Linked DNA regions of Homo sapiens: region 2 is linked to region 1. The links are contacts of gene promoters, found by promoter capture Hi-C in blood cells and fetal thymus (Javierre and others, 2016). All regions are on one chromosome and are shown on one strand. The core of a region is centred on a gene start or on the middle of the fragment in contact, and the rest is flanking DNA. Distances in the headings are between cores, read along the strand shown.

Region 1 (5,708 bases), core at 2,241-4,740:
TACTTTTCAGTTAATGTACCGATTTTCTAGTATGACTTATAAATGAAGGCCCAAAGCAATTTCAGGGTAGAAGTTCAAAAATCAGTCTGAGGCCAGGTGCAATGGCTCATGCCTGTAATGCCAACTCTTTGGGAGACTGAGGCAAGCAGATCGCTTGAGCTCAGGAGTTCAAGACCAGCCTGGCCAACACGGTGAAACCCCGTCTCTACAAAACGCACAAAAAATTAGCCATGAGTAGTGGCACACGCCTGTAGTCTTTACTCGGGAGGCTAAGGCAGGAGAATTGCTTGAGCTCAGGAGGCAGAGGTTGCAGTGAACCAAGATCACGCCATCGCACTCCAGCCTGGCTGACAGGAGTGAAATCCTGTGTCAAAAAAAAAAAAATTCATTTTGAACAATGGATTAAGTTTGTAGTTTCTGAAAGTGATTAAAGGACAGTTTCCATTTGGCCATAGATGCTCTTGTGTGTTTGAAATCAGTCTTAATATATCTGGTATCAATCTGTTGAAAGAATCAACGTCTGGACATACACTATACCATGTACACTTTTCTTCAGAGTGTATGCCATGCTATAAATATCTAAAATTTAAACTTTATGGGAATAAAAAAGCAGTATAAAAATGGATGTTCTTCCAAGTTAGATCTATAAAAAAATATGTACTGGTACCAGGAAATATACATAGGTTTATCTGAGCTCTTGATTTGGGGACATTGAGTTAACAATAAGTATTAGTTCATGTGTTCTGGGCATGGAATTACATGGTGGGTCACACTGGTCCTGTATGAACGGGGGCATGACAAACCATTCTTCTAGTTTGGAACAGTGGGACTAAAGAGAACATGGAAAGCCTGTGACTAAAGCACACTCTACAGTCATAACTTCCCCCTTCTTGTTTGTCCCATAGTCCTTCAGCTACTCTCTGTTCACCCAGTCTTCATGTCCAGGGTATCTTCAGTAGCAGATCAGCATGTACTAGAATAGTATATTAATAGTAAATTCATAATGTTTTAAAAACCTTTACCTCAAACCTTTTAATAGAGTGTACCAAATTTAGTTTGGTCTGATGTAAATGAGAAAATCTACTACCAATCCCTAGGACCAATGATTCTTAAAGATCTCCAAACCAGCAGCATCAGCATCACCTGAGAGCTTATTAGAAATGCAAATTCTCCAGACCTGATAAAGCAGAATCTGACTTAACAAGCCATGGCTCAAGGTGGTTCTGCTACATGTGAAGACCACTGGTTTAGACAGTATCAGCAGTAAAGAAACTCTGTCAAGATGTGCAATCTTCTACGAATTTTGCAACATATTATAATACCCCATTACCATCTTCATGATTACTACATTTAATACACACACAATTACACACATATTCAACTTGTAAGTTACCCTTGACAGAATGTGTATAAAAAAGGTATGCCTTCTCTTTGTAAAGTGATGGTATAGAAGGAAGAAAAATAGATTTGTCTTTAGTTTTTTTAAATGATACTATCCTTAACCCCTCCCCTTTCGTCCCCAATAAAAGAATCACACTGGGGAAACATTGCTAGCAGGTGACTATTCCGTTTCTTTGACATAGCAGGAAAATCTTATTAGGTGATGTAAATGAACCTTGTCACTTGCAAATATAAACTGTCGCGCATCTTGGGTGAACAGCTAAGTGCAGAACTGTTTCAAAAACTTGAAGGTAAATGGATGTCTTATTTGCAGCTAAACCATCATACTCATGTCAAATCTATTCATTGGAATAGGATACTGAAGATACATAATACAATTTTTTTGCTGAAATTTAAAAGTTTCATAATCCACTTAAGAGGCATATTTCAGAATAAAATAATTCTCTGTTTTGGAATTAAAGCACAGGCTTGGAGCAGTCCAGTCCACAGAAGTATAATGCAATCTATCCATATAATTTTAAATTTTCTAATAGCCACATTTAAAAAAGTAAAATGAAATGAATAACATTAACTTCAAAATAATTTTTTACTCAAATATATAAAAATATTACATTTCGACTTATAAAAAATATAAAATTGATGGGCTATTTTTACTTTTTTTGTATTTGATCATTAAAATCTTTCATGTATGTTACATGTATGGCACACCTCAACCAGTATGTTAAATTTTGACTGGAAATACTTTCTTTTTATTTGTTTTTATTTTTTGTCTTAGTGTTCTTCAAAATGATTTTTATTTAGAACACAATTTATTATTGCAAAAGTAGATTCTATATCCAAGTTGTTCTAAATACTAAAAAAGTTTTCCAATAGCTTACTGAACATTAGTTTTTATATTTAAATAAAAAATGAGATTTAAAATTCATTTCTTCAATCACACTAGCTTCATTTCATATATTCAATACACGTAAGGCAGTGTAGAATTGGAGCTATGCGAGACCAAGCTGGGTTAGAATCCTGACTTGGCCTCTTTCCAGCTGCTTGTCCTTGGGAATTTACCTAGCCCTCTCCAAGCTTCAGTTCTAGCTTCGAATTGCAGGCGGGGAAACACCACACTGAATATGTTTTAACTCCTACCTGCAAAGCTAACAGCAGAAGACAAACACCCGCTATTTGTTTCTCCCTTCATGGAAGTGGTGGACTCACTGCATGATATAATAAAAATCAGAACCAATCAACGTAGGGATAGTTAAGTAAATTTCTTTATTCCATACTCTGAAGCCATAAAATACTAATAACTAATTAATCACTAATTTATTTAATCACCAATTAATATTGAAATCGGTTGTTATTAAGGAAGAAAACCGTAATATTAGGAATAGCACGACGGCTGCCCGTGTGCTCAGGAAAAACCTAGAAGGGTCTGCCACCCATCCATTAACAGCGGTTATAGGAAGCAACAGAATGGGGGCAGGGCCCAGCCGGCACACGCTTCAGTTTATATTTCTTGTCAGTTAATTTCCAAAAACGTTGTTCTAAAAAGGAGATATAATACTGTTTTAGTTTAAGGGGCAAATCTCAAATGTGCTGAAACGACTACGCTTTTCCCTCAGTCTGGAATGTGATTTTAAATCTAGCTTAACTATACTATAATAAAAGGCCACATGAAAATACTTTGTCAGAACGAAAAACACGCCGCCTTAAATCCGCTTTCGGTTGGCGGTTTCCCGCCAGCGGAACGGAAGCAAAACCGCCTTTGACGTCAAGGGAAGAGTCCCCTCCCAGTTACTACGGTGAAGTCTATGCGGCCATCTTTACTGTGGTCATCTCGTACCAAGCGTGTCGTAGTGGGGCTGTTGGGGCCCCACAGAAAGTCAGCGGAACGTGAAATGGGAAAGGAATCATGCGACTCTGTAATAAGAAGCTGACAGAACCATGAAGGATCAGGGACTGAAAGCATTAGATAAGTTGTTAGTGGGATGCAGGTTCCACAGGCAAGCGGAACGATTCAAGCGAATTAGTAAAGTTTCTGCCCGGATCTTGAAAGCCGCTTCCGTTGCTCAGCGGAAGTGTCGGTCGCAAGAGGACAGACGCCTCGAAGAATCCGCTATCGGCTGTCTGCACAACCGGAATCATGTCGAGTTTGGCGGTGAGAGACCCGGCAATGGATCGATCACTGCGTTCCGTGTTCGTGGGGAACATTCCATATGAGGCAACTGAGGAGCAGTTAAAGGACATTTTCTCGGAGGTTGGTTCTGTTGTCAGTTTCCGGCTGGTATACGATAGAGAGACGGGAAAACCCAAGGGCTATGGCTTCTGCGAATACCAAGACCAGGAGACCGCGCTTAGTGCCATGCGGAACCTCAATGGGCGGGAGTTCAGTGGGAGAGCGCTTCGGGTGGACAATGCTGCCAGTGAAAAGAATAAGGAGGAGTTAAAGAGCCTTGGGCCTGCAGCGCCCATTATTGACTCACCCTATGGGGATCCCATCGATCCAGAAGATGCCCCTGAATCGATTACCAGAGCAGTAGCCAGTCTCCCCCCGGAGCAGATGTTTGAGCTGATGAAGCAGATGAAGCTCTGTGTCCAAAACAGCCACCAGGAAGCTCGAAACATGTTACTTCAAAATCCACAACTGGCTTATGCACTGTTGCAGGCACAAGTAGTGATGAGAATCATGGATCCAGAGATTGCTCTGAAAATTCTGCATCGGAAGATACATGTCACACCACTGATCCCAGGCAAATCTCAGTCTGTGTCTGTCTCTGGCCCTGGCCCTGGCCCTGGCCCTGGGCTCTGCCCAGGACCTAATGTTCTGCTGAACCAGCAGAATCCTCCAGCTCCTCAGCCTCAGCATTTGGCTAGAAGACCTGTGAAGGACATTCCTCCTCTGATGCAGACTCCTATCCAGGGTGGAATTCCAGCTCCAGGGCCAATACCAGCTGCAGTTCCCGGAGCTGGTCCTGGTTCCTTAACTCCTGGAGGAGCAATGCAGCCCCAACTTGGAATGCCAGGGGTTGGCCCAGTGCCTTTAGAGCGGGGACAAGTGCAGATGTCAGATCCTAGAGCTCCTATACCTCGCGGACCCGTGACTCCTGGTGGTCTGCCTCCTCGAGGACTGTTAGGAGATGCTCCAAATGACCCACGTGGAGGGACTTTGCTTTCAGTCACTGGAGAAGTGGAGCCCAGAGGTTATCTGGGTCCACCCCATCAGGGTCCCCCCATGCATCATGCCTCTGGTCATGACACTCGTGGCCCTTCCTCACATGAGATGAGGGGAGGGCCATTAGGAGATCCCAGACTGCTAATTGGAGAGCCCAGAGGCCCCATGATAGATCAAAGGGGTCTACCTATGGATGGTAGAGGTGGTAGAGATTCTCGAGCGATGGAGACTCGTGCCATGGAAACTGAGGTCTTAGAGACACGTGTAATGGAGAGGAGAGGAATGGAGACCTGTGCGATGGAAACCAGAGGGATGGAAGCAAGGGGCATGGATGCAAGAGGATTGGAGATGAGGGGCCCTGTCCCCAGTTCAAGAGGCCCTATGACTGGTGGAATTCAGGGTCCTGGTCCCATTAATATAGGGGCAGGTGGCCCTCCTCAGGGACCCAGACAGGTCCCAGGCATTTCAGGGGTGGGGAATCCTGGAGCTGGTATGCAGGGTACAGGCATACAAGGAACAGGCATGCAGGGAGCAGGCATACAAGGAGGAGGGATGCAGGGGGCAGGCATACAAGGAGTCAGTATACAAGGAGGAGGTATACAAGGAGGAGGTATACAGGGGGCAAGCAAGCAAGGTGGAAGCCAGCCTAGCAGTTTTAGTCCTGGGCAGAGCCAGGTCACTCCACAGGATCAGGAGAAGGCAGCTTTGATCATGCAGGTTCTTCAACTGACTGCAGATCAGATTGCCATGCTGCCCCCTGAGCAAAGGCAGAGTATCCTGATTTTAAAGGAACAAATCCAGAAATCCACTGGAGCGTCTTGAAAGGTTTTAGAAAATATTTGGCTGTAGTCTCAAATTTTATTCTGTAGCATGGAGAATGGGTGCAAAAAGCTGACTTCTGTATCCCCACACTTGGATTAGGGTTTCCCTCCTCCTAGAACCTAATCTTATTTTTTGTTCTTTTTCTTTCTTTCTGTTTTCCTTTTTTTTTTAATTGAGGGTGGGGGGAGGAGGGAGTGCGTCTGTTCACTTTAAGTTACTTTAAAATAACTCTGAACATGATTATATTATGCCAAATAAGATTACAAAGAATAAGCAGCAATATTGAAGCATCTACAGTATGTTAACTACATTTTTTAAATGT
Region 2 (5,708 bases), core at 1,895-4,394, 4.7 Mb before region 1:
GTAGAATATGTAGACAGTGTTAAAACATAGACACATCAAGCAGAATGAACTCTTACTAGTCAAGCAAGAAGATTCTTTATGGAATGCATAGGAAAAGCATTTTTCATTAAATTGGAAGTATGCATACAATACAAATTGCAATGGAGAGCGTTAAAACATTGGCTAATGAAAAATTGCTGAAAATTCTCCTAAGAATTTTCTGTATTACGCATCTCAATTTATTTCCTTTAATGCTTCTGTCACTGTAGGTACTTCTCTGTTACTAGAAACTCATCTTTTTTCTACAAATCCACAATATGTCAGTTACTCAACTATATTGATTCCAGCATTCTTTTCTTGTTCATTCTATAGTCAGCATACGGAATGCCATTGACCTCCACAGTTTCAATTGCCTACATATTTATGTTGATCAAATATATATTTCCAGTTCTCACATTTTTCCAAGCCCTAAACCTCCTTATCCATTCAAGACACATTCAAATGTCTTTTAAAAATATATACATGAATAGCTAAAATGCCTCTAATAGGTAGGTCAACAAAATCAAGTTGAAAATCTTCCTCTGTCATTTGTCAAATAGAATTATCTTCCAGGAATCACTATTTAAATAAATTGTATCACAGTTCATCCAGTTGCACCATCAGAAACTGAAGTAACATATTTTATACATCGTTTAGTAACTCCAACATATCCAACAAATGATAAAACCTATGAAGTATTTCACCTAAATATATCGAGCTATTTGTATCTTTAGTGCCAAGTTACTTATAGAATCCAAAAATGTTTTCACCTTTTACTAAGCCTACTGGAATAATCACATTTTTCAACCTTTTATTTTTCCACCCATAATTGAGGCTTAACTTTGCAATACTAAAATCTGACTTGCCATCTAATTATGAAGAAACTTTCAATAGATTTCTACTATGTTTATATAAAACCAATATGCTTAAAATGACCTACTGCAGCCTTGCATGAATTGTCCCTTATGTGCATAGAACAAATTATTAGTATCAACTATTAACAAAAAATAGCATTTATCCTCAATAAGCTTATTAGAAAAGAAGAGATATCACTCAAATAATTCTACAAGCAGATGTAAAATGCAACTGTGACTAGATAAAAAGTCTGTAGAGCTTTGTGAGCCTATAGTAAGGAGGCCTGATATAGGCATATAGGTGAAGGAAGGTTTGATCATGTCTGAAAAATCTGAACAATAATCTAGATCATGTCTGAAAAATTTGAGCAGAAATCTAAAGATGTTAGGAGTTAATTAAGTCAAAGAAAAAGACTGCAACATTAGCATACAACATCACATTCAATGCATGTAGGAGGCTATTTAGATCGTTTACAAACAAAAAAACTATATATTTTGCATTGTACTATTCATTTATAATTGTTCAGGCTAATTTTATGACCCATAATATGGACTTGACTATTGGGTATACACTGGGAAAGCATGACTATTCTGCTGTTAGGTTCAGTGTTCTATAAATTATTGTAAGTGGCTTATTGAAATCTCAACAATGACTATGGATTTATCTATTTCTCCTTGCAGTTCAGTTTTTGATTCATGTATTTTGATGATCTCATATTAGGTGTCCAAAAACATTTATGATTAAGTTCACATGATTAATTGACCCCTTTATCATGATAATATCACTTTCTTATTTCTGGTGACAGCCTTTTGCCCAAATATATATATGTATATCTATATATCTATATATATATAGATATATATATATAGATATACATATATATGTGTGTGTGTGTGTGTGTGTGTGTGTGTGTGTGTGTGTGTGTGTATATATATGCCCTAAAATAGCCACTTCAGCTTTCATCTGATTAATATTAGCATGGTATTTTTCCATCCTTTTATTTCTTTATATTTAGTGTACTTAACGTAATTTTGCTGTGGTATCCAATCTAATAATCTCTCCCTTTTAATGGTATATTTAAGGTATTTACATTTAACGGTGATAACACATATGCTTAGGCTTATACCTATCATTTTGCTATTTGTTTTTTATTCTCTTCATTTTTTTCTTTGTTCGTCTTCACTTTTTCTGCCTTCTTTTGGATTAGTTGTTTATATTTTATCTCCTTTATTGATTTGTTACCTACAATTCTTTGTTTTAGAAGTTTATAATAGTTTTCTATTGCTATGTAACAAATTATCACAATTTAGAATCTTAAAAAAACACATTTATTATCTCACAGTTTCTACAAGTCAAGATTTTAAGACAGTTTCACTGGGTCAAGGTTTTGCATTCTGCTCAAGGTCTCACAAGTTTTCAATCACGATGTTAACTGAGTAGCGTTATTTTTTATTTGATTATTTGTAGAAACTTAATCCCCTCAGGGCTGTTTGACTGAGGGCCCCATCTATTCATTGGCTATCAGCTCAGGTCTATTTACAGGTCCTAAAGGCCACTCAGAGTTCCTTGCCATGTGATAACTACCACAGGCAACTTACAACATGGTTGTATGCTTCTTCCAGGCCAGAAGGAGAATCCCTCTTTTTTTTGTGCAGTCTGCTAAGCTTCTGCTATACATGGAAATGGAGGCATGAGAGTGGCATGCTATCCCCTCTGCCTAACAAGCAACCTAATCAATAGAATGACATCCCATCACCTTTATTGTATTCTATTGGTCACAATTTCTATCTGCACTAGAAAGAAAGAAATCACACAAGGAAATGACTCACTGGTAGCCCTTCTAAAGTGTGTTGGCACTATTGCTTCAGAGAGTCTAGAACACAGTTTTAACTCATCAGTTCACCTTCAACTGATAACAAAACTTCAGAGAAACTATACAAGCATATAAATTTACTTTTATTTCTTCTCTCCCACACTTTGTGCTACATTTTACTTTTACATATGTTATAAAACCCACATCACAATTTTTTTTCCTTTAAAGATAGGGTCTCACTTTGTTACCCAGGCTGAAGTGCAATGGCATGACCAACTCATCACAGCTTTGAACTGGGCTCAAGTGATCTTCCCACCTCAGACTCCTAAGTAGCCAGGACCACATTTCACTCCTTTGTATACATTCAGATTTGAAGCTAATGCCATTTTCATTCTGCCTGAAGAACTTCTTGTTTCATGTGGGATCTTATGCTGAAAATTTCCTTCCATTTTTGTGTGTTTAAGAATGTCTTTAGTTAGCCTTCTTTTTTATTTTTATTTATTTTTTGAGACAGTCTTGCTCTGTCACCCAGGCTGGAGTGCAGTGGCACGATCTTGGCTCACTGCAACCTCCACCTCCCAGGCTCATGCCATTCTCCCGCCTCAGCCTCCCGAGTAGCTGGGACTACAGGTGCCCGCCACCACGCCTGGCTAATTTTTGTATTTCTAGTGGAGACGGGGGATTTCACTGTGTTAGCCAGGATGGTCTTGATCTCCTGACCTCGTGATCTGCCCACCTCGGCCTTCCAAAGTGCTGGGATTATAGGTGTGAGCCACTGCATCCAGCCTAGTTAGTCTTCATTTTTGAAAGCTGTTTGCTGGAAACAGAAATCAAGGTTGACTTTTTTTTATTCTTACAGTACTTGAAAGATGTTACTCTACTGTCTTGCTTGCATTGTTCCAAGAAGAAATTTCCCGTAATCCTTATCTTTGTTTCTATGTAACATGTGCCCCAACACCCCTTATTACTTTAGAATTTTTTATCAATGGTTTTGAGTTATGCAATTATGGTATAACTTGATGTCATTTTCTTAATATTTCTTGTGTTTGAGATTTGTGAAGCTTCTTGAATATATGAATTTATATTTTTCATCACATTTCAAATTTTTTGGTCTTTATTACTTGTTTTCTTGTCCTCTCCCCTTGCCTCTCTGAGACTCCACTTTCAAGTATATTATTAGGCTGTTAGAAGTTGTCTCACAGCTCACCATTGATTTGTTCATGTTACTTTATTTTCATTTTTTAATGTTGTGATTGATTTTGGGTAGTTTCTCTAGAGCTGTGTTTCACTTTCATTCTGCAATGTGTAACATACTATATTAATACCATCTAATTCCATCTATCACATTGTAGTGTTCACCTCTACAAGTTTGATTTAGGTCTTTATTACAAGCTTTGTGTCTTTGATTAACTTTTTTAACAGCTTTTATGACAGCAGTAAAGTGTAAATTTAGCGGTTTTCTGTATAGAATTGTACAACCTTCACCATAACCGAAGTGTAGAACATTTTATTTATCCCTTTAAAAGAAACACTATATCCATTTGCAGTCCCTCCCCATACTCTCTCAACCTCTCATTCCCACCAATCCCCAGCCCTGGACAAGCACTATATAAATTTACTTTCTGTTGCTATAGATTTGTCAAATCTAGACATTTCACATAAATGAAATAATATATTATGTGGTCTTTTGTAATTAGCTTCTTTCACTTAGTATATTTTCAAGGTTCATATTTTAGCATGTAGTAACCATTATTTAGCATGTAATAAAGTTCTCTTTACTACTGATTAATACTTCATTGAATGAAAGTATGCATTTTCACTCACCAGCTAATGGGCCTTTGGGTTGTTTTTACCTTTCAGCTTTTGTGAATAATGCTGCTATAGAGGTTTGTGTACTTTTGTGTCCCCATGTTTTTATTTGTCTTGGATATATAACTAGGAATGAAATTGTGACTCATATGGTAACCCTACGTTCAAAGCCTATGCACCAGTTTACATTTCCATCAACATGAGAATTCCACTTTCTTTACATCCTTAGCACCACTTACCTTTTTCATTATAGTTCTGATATCTTTTTGAAGATATGGGATATAGTTACAATAACTGTTTTAATGTCCTTGCCTGTTGATTCTAACATTACTTCAGTTCTGATCAGCAATTGATTTTTCTCCTCATTATGTGTTTTTTTTTTTCTTTTTGCAAGCTTGGTAATTTTTCTTTGTATGACATATGTAAATTGCACCTTTGGTGAACATTTTTCTATTTCTATAAATACTGCTGAAGTTTGGTCTTGTCATCTGTCATGGTTTGTTAAGTTTGATCCATTTGGGTCTTACTTTTAAGAGTTAGATGGCACTACAGCACTGATCAGCTAGGACTAATTACTGCCTACTAAATAATTAGTAAACAACTATCAAATCAAGACTTTTTTGTGTGTACTCTGTCCAGTGTCCTACGGACTATGAAGTTTTCCAGCCTGGTTAGTGGAAATAGAGACTATTTCTGACCCTCTGTAATGTCCATATATATATATTTATATATATATATATATGTATTTTTTTTTTTTTGTGAGACGGAGTCTCGCACTGTCACCAGGGCTGTAGTGCTGTGGCGCAATTTCGGCTAACTGCAACCTCAGCCTCCCTGGTTCAAGCAATTCTCCTGCCTCAGCCTCCCGAATAGCTGGGATTACAAGCGCCCACCACCACGCCCAACTAATTTTTTTTGTACTTTTAGTAGAGACGGGGGTTTCACCATGTTGGCCAGGCTGGTCTCAAACTCCTGACCTCGTAATTCACCTGCCTCAGACTCACAAAGTGCTGGGATTACAGACGTGAGCCACCGCGACCGGCCATGTCCTGGTATCTTTAAAAATCTTTTAGCTAGTTTCTTGAGACACATACTGCTCAGTACTCAGCTGAATGAATACCAAGTTCTCTCTCAGCAGTTATCTTTCTCCTGTACTCTGCAAAGAACATTACCTACCTTGGTCTCCCCAGAATATCTGTTCTATTTTGCCAAC

The links. The method cuts DNA at HindIII sites, captures the fragments that hold promoters and counts their contacts. A CHiCAGO score of 5 or more calls a contact.
Region 2: a contact is called between a fragment that was not itself captured here and the fragment with the promoter of CSTF2T in region 1, in 1 of 17 cell types (fetal thymus). The highest score is 9.4, in fetal thymus.

What each region holds. Positions count from the first base shown.
Region 1 is chr10:51,697,377-51,703,084 of GRCh38, reverse strand. It overlaps CSTF2T (cleavage stimulation factor subunit 2 tau variant), which reads left to right and starts at 3,490. Exons shown (of 1, transcript NM_015235.3): 1 at 3,490-5,708. The coding sequence starts at 3,536. The coding sequence ends at 5,386. All of the region lies in intron 3 of PRKG1 (protein kinase cGMP-dependent 1), which reads right to left. RefSeq lists a silencer at 2,362-2,656 and enhancers at 2,410-3,098, 3,223-3,802. The HindIII fragment of the contact is 5,025 bases long and covers 2,478-5,708 here.
Region 2 is chr10:56,361,820-56,367,527 of GRCh38, reverse strand. LOC124902546 (a long non-coding RNA gene) reads right to left here. Exons shown (of 2, transcript XR_007062372.1): 1 at 5,672-5,708; 2 at 2,809-3,503. Among named protein-coding and RNA genes, the nearest start is that of ZWINT, 3.4 kb to the right of the region's middle. The HindIII fragment of the contact is 1,210 bases long and covers 2,540-3,749 here.